Regions from separate parts of the Homo sapiens genome. Here all the other regions are linked to region 1. Evidence: promoter capture Hi-C in 16 types of primary human blood cells and fetal thymus (Javierre and others, 2016). All regions are on one chromosome and are shown on one strand. The core of a region is centred on a gene start or on the middle of the fragment in contact, and the rest is flanking DNA. Distances in the headings are between cores, read along the strand shown.

Region 1 (2,700 bases), core at 164-2,663:
TTGACACAGGATTTTCAATACAGGTACAAAGCTTTAGATAGAGTTTTCAGACCCAACGTTTCACATTTGTCGTAATTTTGAGATTTCCAAGGAAAGAGCCTGCTTCCTACTCAGGTCTGATGTTAACCTGATGCTGCACACAGCTCTGCTTTGCTTCGAGTCTATCAAACACTGCTCCAGTTAATTCTTACCAAAAAATCCCCCCATTCCCATAACCCAATAATGACACTTCCGTTTGATGAGAGGCATTGAGGTTCCTCTGGAGTGCAGTCTCCCTTGCTGCAGCAAGTTAATAAATCTAACTTTGTTGACTACAGGTTTGTTCCTGGTGCTCTTTATTGGAAGACTTTAGCAATCTTAAACTGCTGGCCCCAAATCCCAAAACAACGGGAAACTCTACTCAGTATCTTTTCTTTTTTTCTTTTTTTTGAGATGGAGTCTGGCTCTTGTCCCCCAGGCTGGAGTGCAATGGTGCAATCTCGGCTCGCTGTAACCTCCACCTCCCGGGTTCAAGCGATTCTCCTGCCTCAGCCTCCCAAGTAGCTGGGACTACAGGCGCCCTCCACCATGCCCGGCTAATTTTTGTATTTTTAGTAGAGACGGGGTTTCATCATGTTGGCCAGGCTGGTCTCGAACTCCTGACCTCGTGATCCGCCCGCCTCGGCCTCCCAAAGTGCTGGGATTACAGGCGTGAGCCACCGCGCCTGGCCAGTATCTTTTCTTAAAGATTCCTTCTTATACAAGTTGAATTAGACAAGATGGATCATTTTGGCTTTTAGTTCCTCCAACATTCCAACCTAGTTAGAGCGGCTTTTCTCTGTGCATGGAAAATTCTTCCCCCAGATCTCTTGCCTGGCTGGCCCAGTTCATACCTAAGGTAGCCATCTGTCCTCACACTGCCGCACCCCCACCCCGTCACTCCACCTCATCATCTCATTTCATTTTCCTATTTTTCTAATCACTCTCTGAGATTATCTTACTTCATTATCTATTTGTTTATAAATTATCCCAATGAGGATGTTAAGATCAGGAGAGAGGGTACCACGACAGCGCTGACAGCCGCAGCTGCCCAGTGTCTAGAACTGTGCCCAACAAACACTTGTGGAATGAGTAAGCAGACGAGGAACTAGACACTTCGTTTGCCTTCGTCCCCTTTAAATACCCTCCAGGTGGACCCAGCCGCATTAAAACTCTGAGAACTAGGTGAATGGCATTTGGCCTCGCCACTGGCCGGAGCGTTTGCCGTTGATCCAGGCAACCACTGTTTTCCCACCAGTCGTGTAGTCGCTCTACCTGGCTCCGCCCCCCAGGACGCCGAGCCTCGGCCGGGCGGTAAAATCGGCGCTTACCCTTTAAGCGGCGGGACTTCTGGTCACGTCGTCCGCGGTCGCCGGAAGGGGAAGTTTCGCCTCAGAAGGCTGCCTCGCTGGTCCGAATTCGGTGGCGCCACGTCCGCCCGTCTCCGCCTTCTGCATCGCGGCTTCGGCGGCTTCCACCTAGACACCTAACAGTCGCGGAGCCGGCCGCGTCGTGAGGGGGTCGGCACGGGGAGTCGGGCGGTCTTGTGCATCTTGGCTACCTGTGGGTCGAAGATGTCGGACATCGGAGACTGGTTCAGGAGCATCCCGGCGATCACGCGCTATTGGTTCGCCGCCACCGTCGCCGTGCCCTTGGTCGGCAAACTCGGCCTCATCAGCCCGGCCTACCTCTTCCTCTGGCCCGAAGCCTTCCTTTATCGCTTTCAGGTACTTACCGGAGACGGGGGGCGTGGAGACTACAGGCCCCAGGAGGCCCAGCGGCGGCTAAGCGTAGGCTGGCATGTTGCGGGCGCGCGGTGCCTGCTGGGATTTGTAGTGGGTCCGGCGCCGGCGGTTTAGGGCGGGGTCCTTTGGGCCCGGGGAGGCTCTGGGATCTGGAGCGGGGTGCTGGATAGCTGGAGTTGTGGGCTGGCCTGGTGGGGAGGGGTTGACTTCACTGGTATAGTGAGATTGTGCTTCCCGCTCTTCGCACTCAGTGAAGGAAGCAGTGAGATTAGTCGTTGGTAGTTGTCAATCTGTTGGACGCTGGCGATTAGGTCCGCCTGGAGCATTGCCCTCTGACCTCCCTCTGTCACCCACGTGGGTGGCCTGTAGGTGTCAACTTCACCAACTTATAGCTGAGTTCCTTTCACGTTTATGGAGTTTTTTTGTTTTGGTTTTCCTATAGGAGTGATTTAAAGTCAGAGATACAAAGAACGAGTGTATTGTTCTGCATTTCCCTCTAGACCTAATTTAGTGTCCCCCACGTAGTAATAGAATGTACGAAGGAATGGGCAAAGAGTACATTTGTCCAGAAATGGAAGGCCTTGTTATTTTCTTAAGCATGAAGGAAACAGTCCAGAGTAACATTTCTGTCAAGAGAGTGCCAGTTTTCTGAAGGTTATCTGTATTCACCAATTTCTGATTTAAAACTTCAATCAGTGGCAGGTCAGATAGCAAGATCTGGCATTAATTTCAGCCCTTTACTTGGCCTATGGATAACATTTTCTTGTCTTTCCCTGTCTTCACTGGGTGTTACTTCTTGGTTTCCTTTGCTGGTTCCTTATCTTCCTGACTTTTAAATGTTAGGATGTGCCTTGGGAATCAGTTATAGGACCTTTTCTATAGACTCTCCCTAGCTTTAGGTGGTCTCATTCATTCAGCCTCAGGGCTTTACATACTT
Region 2 (2,700 bases), core at 60-2,559, 1.5 Mb before region 1:
TTCTTCAAACCGGGCTCTCATCAAACAAGCAAAGTATCGGTATTTGTCTCTTAAACCAAAATGATTTTGAAGATTAGAAATGTTACCTACTCACGTGGTCAGTGTTGCTGTCTGACAGGAGGCTGCACTTCTGATACCTTCTGGATGGGCAGTGGACCTACCCCAACCCTCCCAATGGAGCAGCCGTATCATCATGGCTGCTTCCTCTACAGCCCACCAAACAGCAGCAGCAAAAAAATACTGTATTAAATATATACCCTAACCATTTTTCTCCTCTTACATCCAACAATGGAATGAGGATTTAAACAAAAAAAAAAAAAAAAAAAAAGAAAAGAGCATTCGCAAGAGAAAAGCTATAACCTCTGCAGGATCATTCAACATTCATTGAATGACAACTTCCATTTCCTTCTATCTTGTGCTAGTCACTATGCTAAATTCTGGAGATACAAAGATGAATAAGAAAGGTGTTACTTGGCAGAAACAGTATTGCTTAGCTCATACAGAGCTAGGTTTGTATCCTGACTCTGACACTAGCTGCATAAACTTAGGCAAGTTAAAGTCAAGTTCTAAAGAAACTGGGCAAAGATCAGTTAGGAGGTTTTGACAATAATCTAGGACACAGCTGACGAGGGCCTGAAAGTACGGAGCTGTGATGGTGACAGGAGACAGGGGAGACATTGAGACTTCCAAGTTATGAGAATAGGCTCTCCAGTCAGACTGTATGGGCCTGAATCTTAGCTCTGCCACTACTAGCTGTGTAACTTGGGGTAAGTTACTGTCTTCTGGTCAGGTGCGGTGGCTCACACCTGTAATCCCAGCACGTTGGGAGGCCAAGGCGTGTGGATCACCTGAGGTCTGGAGTTCAAGACAAGCCTGATCAACATGGAGAAACCCCGTCTCTACTAAAAATACAAAAATGAGGCCGGGCATGGTGGCTCACGCCTGTAATCCCAGCACTTTGGGAGGCCAAGGCAGGGGGATCATCTGAGGTGAGGAGTTCTACACCAGCCTGGCCAACATGGTGAAATCCCGTCTCAGCTAAAAATACAAAAACTAGCCGGGCGTGGTGGCAGGCACCTGTAATCCCAGCTACTCTGGGGGCCAAGGCAGGAGAATAGCTTGAACCCGGGAGGCAGAGGTTGCAGTGAGTCGAGATTGTGCCATTTGCACTCCAGCCTGGGGGACAAGAGCGAGACTTCATCTCAAAAAAAAACAACAACAACAACAACAAAAAGGCCAGGCACGGTGGCTCACGCCTGTAATCCCAGCACTTTGGGAGGCTGAGGTGGAGGTCACCTGAGGTCAGGAGTTCAAGACCAGCCTGGCCAACATGGCAAAACCCCGTCTCTACTAAAAATACAAAAATTAGCCAGGCGTGGTGGCGCATGCCTGTAATCCCAGCTACTCGGGAGACTGAGGCAGGAGAATTGCTTGAACCCGGGAGACGGAACTTGCGGTGAGCCAAGATCGCGCCACTGCACTCCAGCCTGGGCAACATAAGCGAAACTCCGTCTAACAAAAAAACAAACAAAAAAAGTCTTCTAGGCCACGGGTTCCTCCTCTGTAAAACAGTGGCAATAACAGTGTGTATATCTTAAGGTTGTCATAAACAGTCAATAAGATAAACACACTTTAAAAAGTGCCTGGTACATCCCAAGTGTTAAATAATGTCAGTTACTAATATCATACTGGAAAGAGAATTTATAAAAACCAGTGTCTAATTATACATGGTGTATGAGTATGTGTGTTATTGGCAAAGGAATAAGGAGCAAATACTTGAGAACAATTCTGAGACTTAAAGCTCAGTAACTGAATTACTAATAATACCATTAGCGGAGGCAGGGAATTTGGGAAAAGAGTCAGAATGGGGAGTGACAGGAAAACAAGTTTGATTTCAAAGAATTTAGATAAATGGAGATTGAGAGAACGGTTGGTGATCTTTTCAATTTTTTTTTTATTATTATTTTTTGAGACAAAGTTTCACTCTTGTCGCCCAGGCTGGAGTGCAATGGGGCTATCTCGGCTCACTGCAGCCTCTGCCTCCCAGGTTCAAGCGGTTCTTCTGCCTCAGCCTCATGAGTAGCTGGGATTACAGGCACCCACCACCACGCCTGGCTAATTTTTGTATTTTTAGTAGAGACGCGGTTTCACATGTAGGCCAGGCTGTTGAACTCCTGGCCTCAGGTGATCCACTCACCTCAGCCTCCCAAAGTACTGGGATTATAGGCGTGAGCCATCATGCCCAGCCAACAGTCGTGATCTAACAAGCAATTCGAACTACAGCTCTAGAGACAAATGAGCGCAGGTGGTGACAGCACTAAATGAGGCTGCCCGAGTACATACAACAACACAGTATGCCTAGGATGGAACCACAGAGAACAGCACAATGAGGGCAAATGGAGGAAGAAATTAAGGCAAGGATTGAGAAAGAATGTCAGATCTAAAAAATGCTGAGCCATAACTGTCATAGTAGCTAGTTTATATCATTTTCCTCTAGAACTATGGACTTTAGTATTCCCAGCTATAGTTCAGTATTGCTTGAATTCTTTTTTTCATGTTTAACTTTTTTTGACACATAATTATTGTACCTATTTATGGGGTACATGTGATATTTTAATACATCCATATAATGTATAATGATCAAATCAGGGTAATTTGGATATTCATCACCTCAAACATTTACCATTTGTGTTGGGATAC
Region 3 (2,700 bases), core at 183-2,682, 1.4 Mb before region 1:
ACTTTCCTTTTTCTTGTTTGCCTTTGGGTTATGGGCCATTTGCCTGTTGTTCTGGCATGTTGCTAGAAGACATTGGGGACAAATGGCTCTGTAATATTTACTTTCCCTAGATCTAGACCACTTAAATGAATTGTTTATTGTCTCTCCTTTTTTGCAAAGCTTACTTGGAATTTCGCATTTACAAGTTTTAAATGAAAAGGTCCAATGTGAAAGATTAAGCCTGGCAGCAATTATACCAGTCCCCCCTAGGTGAACTGCTCCAGGATGGAAAACTGGAGATTGCTTTTCAGCAGTTCTTTTTCATCTCCTTGCTAATGGAATGACTTTTACTTTTTGGTTACAAATGGCAAGGCCATGTAAATCTTGTCCTGCTTGCCGCTACTGGCCTGAACTTGGACATTCCTTTCTAGAACTTTGTCATTTCCCTTCTCTAGTGAAACATTTCTTTTGCTGAGTCCCCTATTGTGGTCTTTACTTTTGATTACCTAATAATCTTTTGGTTTCTGTGTTAACTTGGACAATTCTTCCCCGTGGGTTTAGGGACAGGCTTTACTTTCTTCCTTTATGTGGCTGAGAAACAAGGGACAGCCCTAAATGTTCTTGTCTAGAAACAGGGATACATCCCTTGACCCATGGCATATTTTTCTAACCAATTGACCATGTGGCTTCAGGATGACTCAGATGTTTCAGGGCAGTTGCAACAACTGCTCTTCTCATAGATGAAGACAATAAATTAACTTTGGGACAACATCTGGAGGTTTTGACCCCACACCAAATAACAGAGGCCCTAGAAGCTAAAGGGCACCAATAGATGAGTAGGGGATAGTTATTAAATTATCAGGCTTTATTGCTAGATACTCTTGATATAACTCTTAAAGTATAACAGAAGACCTTAATCCTAGCTACGTATCTACTTGGATCCAAAGGCACCCTAGATCATTCATGTACACAAGCTATGGAACAAATTTATTCCAGCTGGCAGGATTTAAAAGACGGGCCACTAGGGCTGGGTGTGGTGGCTCACACCTGTAATCCCAGTACTTTGGGAGGCTGAGGCAGGCGGATTACTTGAGGTCAGGAGTTCCAGAACAGCCTGGCCAACATGGTGAAACCCCATTTGTACTAAAAATACAAAAATTACCTGGGCGTGGTGGTGCACACCTGTAGTCCCAATTACTCAGGAGGCTGAGGGAGGAGAATCACTTGAACCCAGGAGGCAGAGCTTGCAGTAAGCCAAGGTCATGCCACTGCACTCCAGGCTAGAGACAGAGCGAGACTCTGTCTCAAAAAAGGATAATAATTTTAAAAAAGAATTAACATGTACACAAACTCCAAGTATGGCTTTCTGGTGCTTCATGCTCATGCTGCTATTTGGAAATAATGGGGACTCTTTAACTTCTAAGGGCTCCCCTATAGAACATTATTTGGGAATTTTAAATCTACTAGATGCTTCCTTGCTGCCTAAGGAAGTTGCTGTGATTCACTGCAAGGGACATCAAAAAGAAAACTCCAAAATATGCCAGGCACTGTGGCTCACACCTGTAATCCCAGCACTTTGAGGGGCTAAGGCGGGCGGATCATGAGGTCAGGAGTTCGAGACCAGGCTTGCCAACAGGGTGAAACCCCATCTCTACTAAAAATACAAAAATTAGTTGGGCGTGGTGGCTCGTGCCTGTAATCCCAGCTACCTGGGAGGCTAAGGCAGGAGAATTGCTTGAACCTGGGCAGCAGAGGTTGCAGTGAGCCTGAGATCGTGCCATTGCACTCCAGCCTGGGCAACTTGAGCAAGGCTCTGACTCAAAAAAAAAAAAAAAAAGAAAAAAAAGAAAAGAAAAGAAAGAAAGAAAACTCCAAAATAATAAAAGGGCATTCTTTTGCAGATGCTACAGCTGAGGCAGCTTCATTTGAGGGAACCAGTTAATCTGGTAGGCATGTTGGTGCCCACTGCCTTGGTGACGATAAAACTAGAGCATGGTTAATACTAGAAAAGAACAAAAATGGGCTAAGACCCATGGGTTAACTATAAGCACTTCCAGATGGCTAATTGATGAAAATGACAGATGATATGTACCAAGAGCTGATCAATGGAAAATAGTTAAGTATTGGCATGGCTCTACTCATTTGGGAAGAGATTTCTCATTTCAATTAATATGGCTCATCTGTTTATAGGGAAAGACTTTCTTTTTTTTTTTGAGACGGAGTCTCGCTCTGTCACCCAGGCTGGAGTGCAGTGGTGTGATCTCAGCTCACTGCAACCTCTGCCTCCTGGGTTCAAGCAATTCTCTGCCTCAGCCTCCCGAGTAGCTGGGATTGCAGGCATCTGCCACCATGCCCAGCTAATTTTTGTATTTTTAGTAAAGACAGGGTTTCACCATGTTGGCCAGGCTGGTCTTGAACTCCTGACCTCGTGATCCACCCACCTCAGCCTCCCAAAGTGCTGGGATTACAGGCGTGAGCCACCGTGCCTGGCCGAAAAGACTTTCTTAGAACAGTAAAACAAGTGACTTGGGCCTGTGAATTGTGTGCCCAAAAAAACCTCAAACAACCAAACTTTACCTCCTCCATTAGTAAAGCCTGTTCAGCATAGGGGGTCGTACCCAGAAGAAGATTGGCAAACACACTATACCCAAATGCCCCCATGTAAAGGATTCCAATATTTATCAGTGTTGGTTGATACCTTTCTTTACATGTTGGATTGAA
Region 4 (2,700 bases), core at 145-2,644, 1.4 Mb before region 1:
TACCAAAAACAGGCAAATAAAAACAAAAGAAAAAATAAAAACTTACTATACATGTTACATAACAAAGTGTTTCACTCTTTTATGTGTAAAGTCTATTCATACCCTTACCCTCTTTTGGAAACTTATGACTAAAAATCAGGGTACAAAACATAATATTTACAATTCTCCAAGTACCCGAAATACCTCTAAAACAAAAAGCAACCTGTGGAAAAACATTTCAATACCTGACAGAATAAATATGGAAAAGCACAGAAATAAATGTTACTACTACCTTACTCCCAAGGGAGCCTTCCGCAATGAAGTTTACAACAAAGTGTCTTGAAATGTTGTTAATCTGTTGGTATACTTGATAAATTATAAAGAAAACATTTCTATTGGATTCTCATTTTAGGTTGAAAAAAAACCTGGTATTCTAAGTATTAACACAAAATTAAACTTTTGCTTTTAAACTAAACTTATAATAAGTATGCTTTTATCAAAAATATATGAACATGGATTTTAAAAAGCCAAACCCTACAGAGAGGTGTTAAATGAAGAGTTAAAGCAAGTTTTTCTAGTTTGTCTTTCCCATCTGTGATATCATAAAAAAAATATTAATATTTGGTCTTTGTCCCATTTTCTGACATAGCTTCTAAAATCCTTGGAATCTCTGGAGTGATGACTGTTTTGTACAATAATCAGATGACTGGTGCCTGGGGGCCCCTAGATAGCTTCAGGATGGGGGCTAGGTAGCCAGGGGAATCAGCCCAGTGATTAAGGGTTATAACTTTGATTCCTACCCCCAGCCGCCACTTCTGGGAAGAAAGAAGCTGAAACTTGAGTCCATAAACCAATGACTAGTGATCTAATCAATCTTGCCTATTTAATGAACTTCCATAGAAGCCCAAAAGGACTGAGTTCTGTGAGCTCTCAGATAGCTGAACACTGAAGCTCCACGCCCCTTCTCCTCTTCTCTCCTTCTTTGTCTCACCTTGTACATCTCCTTCCATCGGGTTAATTCATCTGTGTCCTTTGTAATTGCCTTTATAATAAATGGGTAAATGTAAGTACAGTAGTTCCCCCTTACCCAAGATTTGACTTCCTTTTTTTTTTTTTTTTTTTTTTAGTGATGGAGTCTCGCTCTGTTGCCCAGGCTGGAGTGCAGTGGTGCGATCTTTTGATTAACATAGGTTTTTAACCTCAATATCATTCGGTTTATCAATCTTCATTATGTATTTGCTTTTATATATTTTTAAGGATTTCTTCCTTAATCTAAGATTGGAAAAATAAAATATTCCATATTTTTTTCTAAAAATTTAAAGTTCTGCATTTCATATTTACATATACATCTAGGTAAGAATACACTTAGAAATGACTATTTTTTTTTTTTAAGAGACAGGGTCTTGCTCTGTCACCCAGCCAGGCTGGAGTGCAGTTATGCAATCATAGCTCACTTGCAGCCTTGAACTCCTAGGCCCAAGCGATCTTCTCACCCCAGCCTCCTGAGTAAGATAGGACTACAGGCACCCACCACCAAGTATGGCTATTATTTTAAATATTTATTTTTGCAGAGACAGGGTCTCACTACACTGCTCAACCTAGAAGTGACTGTCTATATATTGACATAAGGTAGACATCTAGTATAATTTATTTCCAAAGGTGTAACAAAATGATCATTAATTCAACAGTCCATATTTACCTCAATGTACTTCAATTCTATCTCTGAAACACATTATTTCTATATATACATTGGTGTCTGTTTCTGGGCTATGTAATTATAAATAAGGCTAAGTACTAATCTATTTGTCTATCCCAATGGTTCTCAACCATGATTTGGCAATATCCAGGGACAGTTTTGGCTGTCACACTGGGGTGTGGGGGTGCAAGGTGCTACTGGCATCTAATGGGCAGGGGATAGTGATGCTGCTAAAAATCTTACAGTGCACAGGAGAGCTCCCATCCGCAAACAAAGAATTATCCTGTCCAAAATGTCAATACTGCCACTGTTGAGAAATCTCTGTCTATTCCTCTGCCAGTGATAATTACTTCGGCTTTGTTTTTTCACTTCAGAGGTTTTCTGAAGTCTTTTTCGGCACCAAAAATAGCTATCTCATTTCTTTCAAGAACTTTATTGCATGGCTAGACCTAATACAATGAACAGATTTGTATCAATACATATTTAGATTAAGTTTGTTGCTTTGTTATTTCCAGTAATGCTTGCCCATAGTCCTTAAGCAAACTATCTCTCTAGGCCAATTCCCTAGAATTGAAATTGTGAGTCAAAAGTTGTACGAGCCAGGCATCCCAGCTACTTGGGAGGCTGAGGCAGGAGAATCGCTTGAACCTGGGAGGTGGAGGTTGCAGTGTGCTGAGATCACGCCACTGCACTCCAGCCTTGGTGACAGAGTGAGACTGTCTCAAAAACAAAACAAAACACTGAGAAGTCAGTTGTAAATGACAGTTGATACTGCCAAATGGTTTTACACTGAAATTAAGAGTCTTCCGGGCCAGGCACGGTGGCTCACGCCTGTAATCCCAGCACTCTGGGAGGACGATGTGGGCAGATCACCTGAGGTCGGGAGTTGGAGAACAGCCTGACCAACATGGAGAAAACCTGTCTCTACTAAAAATAGAAAAAAATTTGCCGGGGGTGGTGGCGCTTGCCTGTAATCATCCTAGCTACTCGGGAGGCTGAGGCCGGAGAATCGCCCGAACCTGGGA
Region 5 (2,700 bases), core at 186-2,685, 1.3 Mb before region 1:
TAGAGCTAGTGCTCTCAACCCCAATGCTGTCATCTGGGGCTCAATTGAGCCTGGATGGTCCAAGATGCTGTCATGCATGTTTGGCAGTTAGCTGGGGCTGTTGGCTACGGCCTCCTCCTCCATTTGGTCTTTCCAGCAGGATACATCAGACTTCTTTATGCAGCAGCTGGATTCCAAAAGGTAAATGTCTTCGAGGCAATTTTTCCATGTGGAAAATTACCTTGATGCAATGGCAGCCTCCATGTATACACCTACAGGTCACGAAATAGATAGGCTTATAGGCCAAATTAAGAAGCTTAAATCACATTATCTGGTGGTTCTAAAACGTATCCTCAAAGGTTTTGGCATTACTCCTATTAAGATGTGGGGTTTATATCCCTTTCCCTTGAATAGGGGCTGGCCCTAGGGGTTGGCTTATAGCCAGTAGAATACAGTGGAAGTGATACTGTGTGACTTCCAAGGATAGGTCAGAAAACGCCACAAGCCTGCTTCTTTTTAGACATTCACTCTGGGGAAAGCCAGCTGTCTGGTGAGAAGATCACCATGCTGGAGTGGCTGTGTGAAAGTGCTCTGGTTCTCAGCCCCATTTGAGCTACCAGTCAGCCATGTCAGTGAGCCATCTTAGCTATTCAGCCCAGCTGAACTTTCAAATGACAGCAGTTGTGTTGAAATCTGATTGATACTACATAAACGACTCCAATAAAATAACTGTCCAAGTAAGTTCTTCCCCAATTTCTGAGCCTCAAAATTAAGAGCAAAATAAATTGGCTAATTAAACTACTAAGTTTTGGCATAATGTGTCTACCCAAAGAGCAGCAATAATAACCAGAAGAGTTTACCAACCAACATAAAACAGAGTGAGAAGCAAGGGGAAAGAGATAGGGTAGATTAATAAGCTTAGGATAGGCTGAAGGACCATAGCACCTAAATTCTGTTTTATGCAATGTTCTCATGTCTTATCCCTCTCCACCATCCAGTCTTCTCAGCACATAGTGTGGCTACAAGGACCAGACTGGAGAGTAAGTAAGGTGACTCAACAGACTGAAGGGGCCTGGGCTCAACATATGTCTGTTCTGTTACAGAGCTGAGGGGCAAGTGTGTCTGGTTATAATGGTAGCTGGCATTAGTTGGCTTTGTAGCTGGGGGTTTATCTGCTTTTCTTGGGAAGAGATTACATGAGGCCATAATAGCGTTACAATGGGTGTTACCAGTAGGTATGCAATTTAGGGATGACATGGCTGTAAATCTGAAGATAGTATGATCTGTACCTTATTAATACTTAAAAGTCCACTTTGTCTTTCTGCCTCTATCTAAAGCAGCATTTTCATTTGTTCCATCCTTTTTATCTATGTTCAACCCATATCCATTCATTCTATGTGTAACCTTTCTCATAAGTGACTTGCTTCTACATTTTAGTTTCTCTTGTTTTATAATAGAATTAAATATTCTATAGTAATATAGCAAAAGCATTACAGCAAACCCCAATGAGCAAACATGTATCATATCACGTTTATGATGTCCTCCTATTTATTGACCAAAACAAGTCAAATAGCCAAGCCCACAGTCAATGTAGAGGTGGACCACACAACGGAGCGGATAATAGAAGGTGTAGTTCATTGGGGATCACTACTATAACAATCTAATACTAACACATAGTTAGGAGACGGTTGATCCAGGGATCGAACTTTCCACAGTCTGTCTCTGGAGGCTACACACTAAACTACTATTCTGGAGGTGGTTGGGAATGGGTTCTTACTGAAGAACTTTTTTCAAACCTCACTTCCCAGGTCTGGGGCCTGTGATCCACCCCAGTGAATCAGAATATCTTGGGGGTAGGAAATTGTGGGGGGGATGGGGTGGTACTCCCATGAGCCTGAGACTGAAATAGCTCTGCAGAGGATTCCAGTGCACACTAGGGAATGAAGGGGGTTTCAAAGACAAGGAAGATATACTTTATGCACTCAAAAAGCTTTCATTTCCACAGAGAGCATTCTTAATTGTTGTTATTACATCACAGAGGCATCACCTTGGAATTTAAAAAAGAAGCGATTCCTTTCAATGTTTAAGAGACATCAGTGTTTCTCAAGCTTTCGTGTGTGTTATTACTGGAGGGCTTGTTAAAACCCACATGACTGGGTCCAATGTCTACGTTCTGATTCAGGAGGTGTGAAGTGGGGTCCACTATTTCTCACGTCTAAAAAGCTCTGGGACACACTTTGAGAACCAGAGTTAGAGAAGTAGGAGGCTTTAGTGGTAACAATCCTCCATTATTCAGTTTAATATTCTACTTACATGTAGCACATTTACTACCTACAAGTTTCCGGGCTGAGTGCAGCACTGTTTATGATAAGGATGGGATTTAGATCTTGATTACGCTCCAGCAGATTTATTAAGTGGATTTATTCTCTAAGGGTGCCTAAGCGTCATTAGACAGGTTCAGATAAAGCAGAGATCTCCTCCCTTAGAAGAGATTAGGGACAGCTTAATGAAGTAGGAGACCTTTCACCTGGGCCTTGAAAGATGCCTAGGACCTGGATCAGGGGAAATCGTGGACAATCAAATTATTCTTCCCGCTTTAGCACAGAGACAAAAAAATCACAAGCAACCACTAGGAAAGGTCTATGACATTCTTGCCTCTGCCTCTAGCATTAACAATTTGCATGCCAGCTGCTGGAATCTGAACGGGGAGGACTGTTCTCG
Region 6 (2,700 bases), core at 80-2,579, 1.4 Mb before region 1:
TGGAGCTTGCCTTCAACTTTCATGGCTTCTTATCACATTTACTCTTGTCCCATAGAATATCCTGAATTGGTCCATGCAACAGGGCTAAATACACCATACCTGCTAGAGAACTTTTACATGCTATGGATCCCACTGAAAACTGGCAGATTTCTATCTCACCCAGTTTACGAGTCAGAACAGTACTGCCAACTTCTGAATTCCCACAGAAGCCTACACAGCTTGGTGTGCTTCCCTGGTGGCAGAATAATTTTGGTGAAATGAGTGGGTGAGATGCAATAATTTGTCCTTTACTGTGAAGGGGATATCTTGGCATTCAAGCAGCCTACTGGGCCCTAAAAGTTTCACTGAGGTAACAGCTTGCTGGGTCTTAAGGATTATTTCCCATCCTCCAGTGTACAGTATGCTAGCTGCTTATTATTCACCTTATCCAGCTAGCATGATGTCATCAATGTGGTAGGTCATTGTGACATTATGTGGGATGTTTAGATGGTCTAGATCTCTTCGGATTATGACGCAGTGTGGAAGAGTTAACATAACCCTAAGCCAATACTATAAATGGGTACTGCTGTCCTATATAAACACAAACTTAATTCTTGTCCAGCACTCTCAGGACCCAGTTCCATACACATGCTCATGGTTCCTGTTGGTACATGTTGGTTAGATCCTGCATCTCTTTGGTCATATAAGCCCATTTGGAATTGAAAGTAGACACACAGAATGAGGGCAAAACACCTGCAGAACAGCTGCTTCATCATGGTGGGCTTTTTTCATATTAGGTTTTGTTACCTTTGAGTTTTTAAATTATGTGTAAAGCTTCGATTAAAAAAATAAAAATTATTAAAAAGAAACTGAGACAGTCTATCCACCTATCTCTATTTACCCAGTGCTGTTGTTGTGTTACATAAAATTCAATTTTAGCTTCATGTTCATGCAATATTTTCGTTTACCCTTGATTCAACCTTGACCTTTAAAAAGCCAAAAAGACAAATACCTATTTTGACACTGGTTCTGATCTCTCTGAAATTCTGTGTGACCAATGGTCAAGTAACCTTGCAGGTTATTTATCATGTCTAATCTGAAAAAAGTCATTGTATTTACTAATATTTTAATATTCACCTTATAGGTAAGCATTCTAAACATGATTGTGGCAAGAAATTCTTATATGCTTTACATGTTGAAATTCTGTGTCAAATGAAGTACATATGTATATTATTGCAAGAGTGAATTTCTTCAGTAATGATTGTGACAGCTAGTAAATTTAAGTAGAAAGTAATTATAAACTTCCAAATACTTTTTTTAAATGGGCAAAATATATGAAACAATGGCCCTGAAGGCATTGGACATAGGCAGTGAAGGATAGTAATCCATGAGAGATGGAATGCAAACAAGGTGAGCAATACAATTGCTCCAACTTGCTGCCTGAAGAAAGGCTTTGGCATGGGGAGAGGGAACCCAGAAGACTCTGTGAGGTGAGGAGATATAAGTGGGAGTCCTGAGAGCCCAAGGCAACTAGAGTTCACAGGGTAGAATACTAGAGAGGACAGAGTGACACAGAGAGAACTCCAGAGATCTGCTGACCATTCTCCTGAAGTATTAAGCTAAATAATGATTAGTACATGCATGAGAGGAAATAACCAAAGGCTTGGCAAAGAACCATCAGAAAGGATTAAAGAAAACAATACTCAAAGCTCACACAGGATGGTGAATGATTCCTGATCCCGTCAGCAAGAGTGGAAAAGATCCTAATTCACAAGGCACCAGTTAGAGTACTAAGAAAGGTCTTGCTTCAATAGCGGGAAAAATTAACCCTCGACTAAATGCTCTAGAATAACCTAACAAAGCTTAAAAGAGAGACCCAAAAACATTCAAACTGTGTCCAAATAACTTAATCATACTCCAGAAGAAAGTTCAAACTGTTTTAGGGATATGAAAATAATCTACAAAGTAAAATTCACAATGGCTGGCATCCAATCAAAAATTACCAGGCATGCAACAGAAAAATACAACCCATAATAAGAAAAATAAAACATTCTGGGCTAGGTGCAGTGGCTCACACCTGTAATCCCAGCACTTTGGGAGGCCAAGGTAGGTGGATGACCTGAGGTCAGGAGTTCAAGACCAGCCTGGCCAACATGGCGAAACCCCGTCTCTACTAAAAATACAAAAATTAGCAGGGAGTGGTGGTGCTCACCTGTAGTCCCAGCTATTCAGGAGGCTAAGGCAGGAGAATTGCTTGAACCCAGGAGGCAGAGGTTGCAGTGAGATTGTGCCAATGCACTCCAGCCTGGGCAACAGAGCAAGACTCCATCTCAAAACAAACAAAAAATAAAACATTCTGTCAAAACTGACTCAGAAATTACAGATGATGAAGATTATTAGACAAGGACATTAAAACAGTTATTATAATTATATTCCATGTATTCAAGAAACCAGAGGAAAGACTGAAGATATTACAGACAATGAAGGTATAAAAAGACCCGTATCAAACTTCTAGAGATGAAAACTCCAATGTCTGAGATGAAAAATATGTTAGATGAGATTAATGGCAGATTAGATATTGCAGAAAGAAAGATCAGTGAACTTGAAGATGCAGCAGTAGAACCTCCCTGAAACAGAGAGAAAAAAGAATAAAATGAGACACACACCTCCTACCAAAATAAATAGAGCATCAGTAAAGGGTGGGACAACTTCAGGCAGCCA

The links. The method cuts DNA at HindIII sites, captures the fragments that hold promoters and counts their contacts. A CHiCAGO score of 5 or more calls a contact.
Region 2: a contact is called between a fragment that was not itself captured here and the fragment with the promoter of DERL1 in region 1, in 2 of 17 cell types (neutrophils and monocytes). The highest score is 6.2, in neutrophils.
Region 3: a fragment that was not itself captured here is called in contact with the fragment with the promoter of DERL1 in region 1 in 7 of 17 cell types (total B cells, monocytes, fetal thymus and 4 more); the score reaches 10.4 in total B cells.
Region 4: a fragment that was not itself captured here is called in contact with the fragment with the promoter of DERL1 in region 1 in 1 of 17 cell types (neutrophils); the score reaches 8.7 in neutrophils.
Region 5: a contact is called between a fragment that was not itself captured here and the fragment with the promoter of DERL1 in region 1, in 1 of 17 cell types (total B cells). The highest score is 5.3, in total B cells.
Region 6: a fragment that was not itself captured here is called in contact with the fragment with the promoter of DERL1 in region 1 in 2 of 17 cell types (neutrophils and naive B cells); the score reaches 6.7 in neutrophils.

The regions. Positions count from the first base shown.
Region 1 is chr8:123,041,015-123,043,714 of GRCh38, reverse strand. DERL1 (derlin 1) reads left to right here and starts at 1,413. Exons shown (of 8, transcript NM_024295.6): 1 at 1,413-1,745. The coding sequence starts at 1,593. RefSeq lists an enhancer at 1,464-2,003. The HindIII fragment of the contact is 6,787 bases long and covers 34-2,700 here.
Region 2 is chr8:124,540,436-124,543,135 of GRCh38, reverse strand. It overlaps NDUFB9 (NADH:ubiquinone oxidoreductase subunit B9), which reads right to left. Exons shown (of 4, transcript NM_005005.3): 2 at 1-49. Among named protein-coding and RNA genes, the nearest start is that of NDUFB9, 2.7 kb to the right of the region's middle. The HindIII fragment of the contact is 4,221 bases long and covers 1-2,700 here.
Region 3 is chr8:124,445,349-124,448,048 of GRCh38, reverse strand. No RefSeq gene overlaps it. Among named protein-coding and RNA genes, the nearest start is that of TYW2, 4.1 kb to the left of the region's middle. The HindIII fragment of the contact is 2,542 bases long and covers 162-2,700 here.
Region 4 is chr8:124,478,809-124,481,508 of GRCh38, reverse strand. The region is part of intron 1 of RNF139 (ring finger protein 139); the gene reads right to left. Among named protein-coding and RNA genes, the nearest start is that of RNF139, 5.3 kb to the right of the region's middle. The HindIII fragment of the contact is 4,337 bases long and covers 1-2,700 here.
Region 5 is chr8:124,373,247-124,375,946 of GRCh38, reverse strand. No RefSeq gene overlaps it. Among named protein-coding and RNA genes, the nearest start is that of TMEM65, 1.9 kb to the right of the region's middle. RefSeq lists an enhancer at 2,684-2,700. The HindIII fragment of the contact is 1,073 bases long and covers 899-1,971 here.
Region 6 is chr8:124,462,418-124,465,117 of GRCh38, reverse strand. It overlaps RNF139-DT (RNF139 divergent transcript), which reads left to right. Exons shown (of 2, transcript NR_108047.1): 2 at 1-2,625. Among named protein-coding and RNA genes, the nearest start is that of RNF139-DT, 11 kb to the left of the region's middle. The HindIII fragment of the contact is 1,028 bases long and covers 816-1,843 here.